Regions from separate parts of the Homo sapiens genome. Here region 1 is linked to region 2. The links are contacts of gene promoters, found by promoter capture Hi-C in human tissues and cell types (Jung and others, 2019). All regions are on one chromosome and are shown on one strand. Each heading gives the region's core, a stretch centred on a gene start or on the middle of the fragment in contact. The rest is flanking DNA. Distances are from core to core; before and after follow the strand shown.

Region 1 (4,303 bases), core at 836-3,335, 290 kb before region 2:
CAGAGGAAATTGGACATGCACAGGAAGCCAATCAGACACTGGTTGGCATTGACTGGCAACATTTATAATTATTGCACCACCAAAAAACACAAACTTGGATTTTTTTAACCCAGTTGGCTTTTTAAGAAAGAAAGAAGTTCTGCTGAATTTGGAAATAAATTCTTTATTTAAACTTTCCTTCCCAGTTTTATAGTTTCTGGTTCTGAGGACTGATGAAAATCATCTTCCATCAGCAGATTTTCTTGCACTGTTTGCTGTGCCCCTCAAATATAATGTCTTGGGTTTTAAGATCGAGCAAGGAGCTTCTCTTCCTAGATTGGATCCCAGCCCCTTTGTGGGGGTCTGACTGCATAGTCCCAGCCATTATGTGATATTTCACGTTATTGATGATAGTGAACCGTGGGTCCGAAGCTGACTCAACGGAGGCAGGGAACAAAGTCTCTGTGGTCTGTTGGGTCATACTTCCTGGTTCCACTGAGTGGCCCAACACTGGGACTGGGTTGGTGTCCCCTCTGCTGACAGGACCCTACTCCTAGGAGCAAAGTGGTTGATTTTGAAGGCAGTGTTCCCTTCTCTCCATTGACTATGAGAGAGTTGGGGGACACACATGCAGAAGAAGCCCGTGGGGAGAAGGTGGATTCCTGGTGTGCTGGCTGGTTTTTCAGGGCTGTTAGAGGTTTTTTTTTTTTCTTTTTTTTTTTATGGCAAGACTTTTGGCTTTGAGAAAACTCACTTAGAGGGCTTTCCAAAAACTTAGGATGGTCTAAAAAATTAGGATATTCTTTTAGAATTAGGAAGAAAAATTAGGATATTCTAAAAGAATATGGATTAAAAATTTAGGATATTCTTTTAGATATCCTAATATCTAGATGAGAGGCCTTCCTTCATAAGATCTGGTTGTTTGGGCTGTGGTTGGCATAAGTGATATTTATTTTGGCCTCTGTCACATCCAGTTTCTTGAGCTTTTAAGGTAAGCTTCTTTTGGCTTTTTTTCAGATGTTCACCAAGCTTAAGTTTAAAATAATAGGTATTCTAAAAGAGTATCCTAATTTTCTTATCTGTATTCTTTTAGAATACCCTAATGTTTCAGACAGTGATATTCTCTTGTTATTTCTAAGGCTAAATTGGCAGAGTATATCATCTAAAGCCAAACACTGAAGAAGGTGAGAACCCACTCCCACCCAGCCAGCATTTCCTGGAACAGACAAGCTGCTGCTTCCTTGCTGGCTCACTTAGTGCATTCCTGGGATGGTCTGGCACCCAGGCTTTTTATTCTTTTTGATCATTGTTCTTACTGAGGTGCCTTCCTAGAACAAGAGCCACTTACAAAATAGCTTATAATTATTATGTACCACACAACTACTATTGTTTGATGTATGACTGCTGAGAGCTTGAATACATGCAGAGAGTGACTGAAGACTTAGTAGAGGAATAAATTCTGAGCCTGTCTAAGGTGGGGCTAAGGAACAGATGAGTAATAAGAGGCTCTTGGATTTTTTTAACCAATGCAACTGACCCTTTCAATCAGTTTTCTTTGAATTACATCTACAAGTTTTGTTCCACTCAGCTACCAGTCAACTAGGCATGCTCCACAGTATCACAGGAAGAAGGTCAGAAATCTGGAACTGAAGCTAAAAGAAGTGAGGATGTAGAAGCCACATTCCTCTCCAAGGTAGTGTGTGAAAGAACCGCCCCCTCTTGACAGGAGGATGACCGTCGCCATTCTTGCGTGGGACTGACTCACCCAGCTGAGAGGAGGACCAATAGAAAGAAAATTCACATTTGAGTCCACCTCTCTCCCCCTTTTTCTGGCCTTCATTCATAAGATCTGGTTGTTTGGGCTGTAGGTGGCATAATTCATGTTTATTTTGGCCTCTGTCACATCCAGTTTCTTTAGCTTTTAAGGTAAGCTTCTTTTGGCTTTTTTTCATATGTTCACCAAGCTAAAATTTAAAATAATAAGACCAGGTTTCTCTCTGTACAAGTGGATTATAAACATTTTCACCAAATCATAACAATACTCCAGCTTTCCGGTCCGACTTCCTAGGAGCCTGGAGTTAGCAAAGGTTGTCTCTGGATTTCATTCTCTGAGAATATCACAGAGCCTGGGAGAAGATGAATTTACATGAAATTGCAACATACACACCTTTTTATTTTCTGGTGTTAAGCTAGTTGTCTTTCCTACCTTACAAATCATGTTAGTTTTATGATTTGTTCCGCATGTTTTATGTTTATTGTAGAAATGTTTATATAACATACGCTTTCCATATCAGGGAAAATCATATCTGTTTAATAAATTGGCTATAACTTTAATATCTGTGGACAACTTGTAAAATTTGGAATGTATCATATGTAAAAAGTTTAAAGATATCCAAATAAATGCTTTAGGTGTTGGCATTACTTTTGGTTAGCATATATCTTTCTGTTTCATTTTACACATTTACCTGCCACAGCAAGGTGCCCGTGTCACCTTGCTACAAATATAGTGGGATATCTGTATTAGCTTTAAATTTAAGAGGGTTATATTATTATGGCCACTAGCCAAACTATCTTGACCTTCTCAGAGAAAGTGTGATCATCATTTCAGCTGATTAAGTTTCATATTCATTAGCCATGACAGCGTGTGACCTTTGTGGACCATTTTGGAACTCAAATCACTGGGAAACAGGGCACTCCAAGACCTGTGTCTGGGTTTAAACTCTTGTTCATCCTTACCTGGTGATCTCAAGGTCCTTGTCCTTACACACTCCCCTAGTGTGCTGGCTGGTTTTTCAGGGCTGTTGGAGGTTTTTTTTTTCTTTTTTTTATGACCACTTCCTGCTTTTGAGAGAGAGACATAGAAAGGCAGCTACACTGTCTTCCTAGGGGAGTCATTGCCCATGAGAATTCTGTTTTTTTTGAAATCCTCTTGAGAGCATCAAACTAAAACAGCAAGGTTTCCATTGCACTCACCCTGCCTCCTGGTCAGTAACACTGCTCCCAGCCTACTGCCTTCACCACTCTTGTCTTTAGTTCCAGGAACTCATGAAGCCCCTTCTGACATGCTCCTCCCTGTCTTCCTACTCTTGATTTTGGTGTGGTGGTGGTTTGGTTTGGTTTTTTTAAAGAGACAGGGTCTTGCTTTGTCCCACAGGCTGGAGTGCAGTGGCACAGCCTTGGTTCACTGCAGCCTCAACCTTCTGGGCTCGAGCAATCCTCCCACCTCAGCCTCCCAGTAGCTGGTACTATAGAGGCACATGCCACCACACCTGGCTAATTTTTGTATTTTTTTTGTAGATACAGCCGCGCTATGTTGCCCAGGCTGGTCTTGAACCCTTGGGCTCAAATGATTCTCCCGCCTCAGCCTCCCAAATGCTAGGATTATAGGTGTGAACCACTGTGCCTGGCCTGTTCCTACTCTTGTTTTTTAAGTCACATTTATTGAGGTATATTTTACAAACAGATTAACTCTTTTTAGTGTACAGTTTTATACATTTTAACAAATGCATACAGTTAAACAACCACAATCGAGAAATAGAACAATTCCATCTTCCCCAAAAGTCCCCTTTGTAGTCAGCTTCTTGCCTCATCCTGGCTTTCAGCTACCAGTGTTTTTCTCTCCCTTTGTTTTGTCTCTTCCCGAATGTTATATAAATGGAATTGTATCATATGTAGCATTTTGAGTCTGGCTTCTCACTAAAGAAGAATGCATTCGGGTCCTCCCTGTTCCTTTGGATTGCTGAGTAGCATTCCGTTGTACAGACTTCTGGGCAGTTGCCAGATGAAGGGCATTTGGGTGAGTTTGGGTGATTGTTTTGGTGATTACTGCTACAAACATTCATGGATGGGTTTTTGTACAAACCTGAATTTTCACTTCCCTCAGGTAAATAGCTAGAAGTTGTCCCTTACATCTTAATCCTCCATTTGATGCCATCCTGAGAGCTCAGCATTCTCTAATCTGTAACTTTGCTGTTTACAGTCCTCTGTGATGGACAGGATAAAATGCTGTCAGGAGTTAAGAACTGACATGTTTTTCCCCTTCCAGCCAATCTATCCATTGTGACCTGGGAAGGCACTTGTCTCTTCCCTGGACTTTCATAGTATTGGACAGACACTTTTCTCTTCCTAACACAGTGGTGCTGCCTGCCTGCGCTGTCATTGAGAGCCATCTTTTTAGCCAGTCGTGGATGAAAAGCCCTGTCTTGGTCCACGATTTTCCCTGGCTAAGCTGCAAACATGCTGGCCTAGTGTAACAGGTGCCCGGACGAGGAGGGGCAGGGGAGCGTGCAGAGCGGGCACCTAATCTTATTAACCCATATTAAGG
Region 2 (4,577 bases), core at 1,678-4,177:
AAAAGCCACAAAGTGGCTGGTGGCTTCCATATTGGACAGCACCATCTAAACCATATATCTAGGTCCTTAATTAAACACTATACTGTATTTGTCCCCCTAAACACAACTTTCATTTTTTTCTTTTTTTGAGACAGAATCTTGCTCTGTCACCCAGGTTGGAGTGCAGTGGTGTGATCTGGGTTCACTGCAACTGCCACCTCCCAGGTTCAAGCGATTCTCCTGCTTCAGCCTCCCCAGTTGTTGGGTTTACTGGTGTGCACCACCATACTGGGCTGATTTTTGTATTTTTAGTAGAGATGAGGTTTCACCATGTAGGCCAGGCTGGTCTCGAACTCCTGACCTCAAGTGATCTGCCTGGCTCAGCCTCCCAAAGTGCTGGGATTACAGGCATGAGCCACTGCGCCTGGCCTTTTTTTTTTTTACACAATGAAGGTTTATTTTTTTGTCACTCTTATGTCTGTTATGGCGAACTGGTGAGTCTTTACTCAGTAACCCATGGAAATGGAACAACTATTATCTGTTCTACAACTTTCTTCTTGAAGTAAAGGCAGAAACCAAAAACTTTCCTTGGATGTATTTAATAAAATATTAAAACTAAACACCAGGCACCAAAGATAATAAAGACTCCTTTCCTTCAAGGTATTTACAATATATAATTGGGGATTAAACAGATTATGTAATCATAACAAGATAGAATAAAATAAATGCCATAAAAAAGATAGAAAATGCTATAGGAGGAAGTTCTAAATTCGTGGCTGTGAGATCATGAAAGGCTTTGTGATAAAGGTGTCATCTTTAGATGGCTCTTGAGGGAAAGGAGGGTAGGATTTTAACAGATGAGGCTAGAATAATAGGAAACAATTTGAAGTCAAGGATAAGAATGAGCAAAAGCACAGAGACATCATCCTCCATATTATAAAGCACAATACTGAATACATTGTAGCAATTCAATAAACTAATTAGATTGAGTAGATTAACATACACATCTGAAACCTCACTTTTTTTTTTTTTTTTTTTTACACAGAATTTCGCTCTGTCGTCCAGGCTGGAGTGCAGTGGTGTGATCTGGGCTCACTGCAACCTCCACCTCCCAGGTTCAAACAATTCTCCTGCCTCAGCCTCCCAAGTAGCTGGGATTACAGGCATGCACCACCACACCCAAACTTCACCTTTCACCTGAATGGATGAAAGCCTTTTGTATGCCCCACTACATTATGGAGGCTTATGATATTTTGATTACAGAATATGGATCAATAGGCCGGGTGAGGTGGCTCACGCCTGTAATCCCAACACTTTGGGTGGATCACCTGAGGTCAGGAGTTCGAGACCAGCCTGACCAATACGGTGAAACCCCGTCTCTACTAAAAATTACAAAAATTAGCCGGGCGTCGTGGCGCGAGCCAGTAGTAGGAGGCTGAGACAGGAGAATCGCTTGAACCTGGGAGGCGGAGGTTGCAGTAAGCCGAGATCGCATCACCACATTCCAGCCTGGGTGACAGAGCAAGACCCCATCTCAAAAAAAAAAAAAAAAAAAAAAAAAGGAAAGAAAGAAAAAGAAAATAGATAAATGAGGCTAAGAAACATTATGCTTTTTTTTTTTTTTTTTTGAGACAGAGTTTCACTCTTATCGCCCAGGCTGGAGTCCAATGGCGCGATCTTGGCTCACCGCAACCTCCGCCTCCCAGGTTCAAGCGATTCTCCTGCTTCAGCCTCCCAAGTAGCTGGGATTAGAGGCATGCACCACCACGCCCGGCTAATTTTACATTTTTTTAGTAGAGACGGGGTTTCTCCATGTTGGTCAGGCTGGTCTCGAACTCCCGACCCCAAGTGATCCGCTCGCCTCGGCCTCCCAAAGTGCTGGGATTACAGGCGTGAGTCACCGCGCCCGGCTAGAAACATTATGTTCAAAGTCCGGGATGATATGGGGCACGAGTCCTAAATCTTCCAATTTACCTAAGACAGAGAAGAGGGTATAAGAAAGAGGAAGCACTCCTGACCCCAGTCCTTTATCCTACCTGAATTCTGAGCTCTCCCATTTCCAGGGGGTCACAGCCAAGATTAAAAGCCAAAGTGGCAGGGACAAGCGCCAGTCCGTCAGCGAGGGGCTCTCCCAGCGGTCCAGAGCCGGGTCCCAGTCTATCAGAGAGGTCCCAGCGAGGTTCTAGGACCTGCACCCTAGCCAAGTGCGGCTGTGAAGTGTTCGATGACTCTCTGGCCTGGGCCACCCACACCCATTCGCCCTGGAAGAGGCCAAGGCCACGGAGACAGCTCCGGCTCACCCCTAGTGAATCTCCAGTCCCTCCCAGAACTCCCTGGAGTCGCCGCACTGTGCCAGAAACCGCAAAGGAGGACACCACGGGCGGGGGTGGGGGCCGACTGCTGTCCCCAGACTCTGGACACAGTCTGGCCCGCCCGCGGAGCTCAGTCACAGCCAGCCGAGTCCCTGGGCCCAGCAGCCCTTGCAACGCCGGCCGCGTCTCCAGCACCCGCGGTCCGGGCACTGGGAGGGTCTCTCCGCGCCTCACCAGCAGCGGCCCGACTCGCGGTCCGAGCCCAGGCCCCAGCGAGGTGCCAAGCAGTGCCCAACCTAGCGCCGGGGGCCGCCGCACCGCCCGCGCCCGCACCCAGGCCCCGGAGCCCAGTGCCAGGAGCCGCAGCAGCGCGCGGCTAACCAGTAGCTGCGGCGGCCCGGGACCCTGCTCTTCGGTGCCCGCGTCCGGCCCCTCCAGGGCTGCCACCAGCAGCGCCGGCCCTGCCGGGCTCTCCCCTGCAGGCCTCAGGGCCAGCACCAGGCCCAGCTCCGCCGCCGGCCACGGGCCCCCGGGTGGCAGCAGCACTGCCAACGGGGGTGTCTCGGTCGGAAAGGGCTCCAGGACCCGCAAGACAGCCAGCGCCATGGTGACAGGACACCAACGAGGAGGGTGAAGGAGCGCAGCTTCCGGAGCCAGAGAGCCAGACGACTAGTGTGCGCGAGGGCCGCTTCCGCTTCCGTCAGGGGAGGCCAGAGGAAAAGGGGAGGGGGGTCGGGTGCCGCGAACTTGCTCTGAGGGGGTTAGCTGCGCCTCGGATTGATCTGCGTCGTGCCTCGATAGGCAGTAACCTTCATCGCTGCGGTTGCGTAGCGTTTACCCATGCGCCATTTGAACTTGTGCTTAAGGGATTTATCTTTGCCTTCTACGGAAGTAATGTTCTCTTAACTATTTTTCCCCGTGGCATGAACGTAACAGTTTATTGACTGATAAATGAACAGTCAGCATGCTCGGGATGACTGGGCCCAGTACTGGGAGCTCTAGGTGAAATGTTTCGGAAGGAGTCCGCTCCTCTGCGGAGCTCCTGCAGCTTCCCCTGTGGAACTGTGAGCACTGAGGTTTGAGGGTTGCAGGAAAGGTTGCAGGAGGGAGTAGCAGGATTAGAAAACTGTCTCACACTTGCTTATAGGTATATAGTGGCTGCTGAGTGAATTACTAGATGTGATTCATACAGCCCTGGAGTGCTTGGTGCCACCACACATGTTCCAGCACATCTGGCACAAAACCCATGTTCCAGGACTTCTTGCCCTGTTCATTGTTCTGTTTGTTTTACTCCCACCAAACTTAAGTTGAAGACAAAACAGCTTTTCTTTCACCCCCCCCCCCCAAATCCTTGCAGATCGGAAACCCATTCACTTTCTATCCTAGAGCGGGGCAGGCAGCAGAGCAGGCAGAAGGAAAGGAGTTCAAGGCTTCTGTCAGCATAACACCAACAGTCGACTTCCTGCGTGTGCTGTTATTTAGATTCCATCCTTCTCTTCACCTCCACTGTTCTGTACAAGACACTCAGCTAGTGGTAGGCCACATTTCCTTTTTTATGGCAACAGGGTCCTACTCTGTCACCCAGGTTGGAGTACAGTGGCACGATCCCCATTCATTGCAGCTTCTACCGTCCCAGGCTCAAGTGATCTCCCACCTCAGCCTCCCGAGTAACTGTAGCCGGGACCACAGGCACACGCCACCATACCCAGCCAATTTTTTTTTTGAGACGGAGTTTCGGTCTTGTTGCCCAGGCCAGAGTGCAATGGCACGATCTCAGCTCACTGCAATCTCCGCTTCCCAGGTTCAAAGAATCTCCTGCCCCAGCCTCCCAAGTAGCTGAGATTACAGGTGTGTGCCACCACACCCAGCTAATGTTGTATTTTCAGTAGAGACGGGGTTTCACCCTGTTGGTCAGGCTGGTCTCGAACTCCTGGCTTCAAGTGAGCCACCTGCTTACGCCTCCCAAAGTGCTGGGATTACAGGCATGAGCCACTGCGCCTGGACTAATTTTTTATTTTTTGTAGAGACAGAGTTTCTCTGTGTTGCCTAGGCTGGTCTCAAACTCCTGGTCTGAAGAGATCCTCAGGCCTCAGCCTCCCAAAGTGCTGGGACTACAGGCATAAGCCATCATGTCCCACTGCATTTCCAATTATTAACAATTATTTTCACTTACAATAAATGAATTGGATGGTGCCAATCTCCATTTTCTAGACCTTACATTCTCTTTCAGCTACTGCTCAGCTTTCTCCATCTCTCCTTTCTTCTTGAGGCAGTCTTCTATTTTGT

What was found. The method cuts DNA at HindIII sites, captures the fragments that hold promoters and counts their contacts. A contact is called where the count stands out against the background at its distance.
Region 1: a fragment that was not itself captured here is called in contact with the fragment with the promoter of PEX6 in region 2 in 1 of the 25 tissues and cell types used here (IMR-90 fibroblasts).

The regions. Positions count from the first base shown.
Region 1 is chr6:42,691,106-42,695,408 of GRCh38, forward strand. It overlaps UBR2 (ubiquitin protein ligase E3 component n-recognin 2), which reads left to right. Exons shown (of 47, transcript NM_001363705.2): 47 at 1-2,400. The coding sequence ends at 68. Among named protein-coding and RNA genes, the nearest start is that of PRPH2, 29 kb to the right of the region's middle. The HindIII fragment of the contact is 3,806 bases long and covers 183-3,988 here.
Region 2 is chr6:42,976,254-42,980,830 of GRCh38, forward strand. It overlaps PEX6 (peroxisomal biogenesis factor 6), which reads right to left and starts at 2,928. Exons shown (of 17, transcript NM_000287.4): 1 at 2,016-2,928. The coding sequence starts at 2,897. LOC124900215 (a long non-coding RNA gene) reads right to left here. Exons shown (of 2, transcript XR_007059580.1): 2 at 4,289-4,577. RefSeq lists enhancers at 2,188-3,129, 3,290-3,339 and silencers at 2,500-2,879, 3,534-3,730. The HindIII fragment of the contact is 12,677 bases long and covers 1-4,577 here.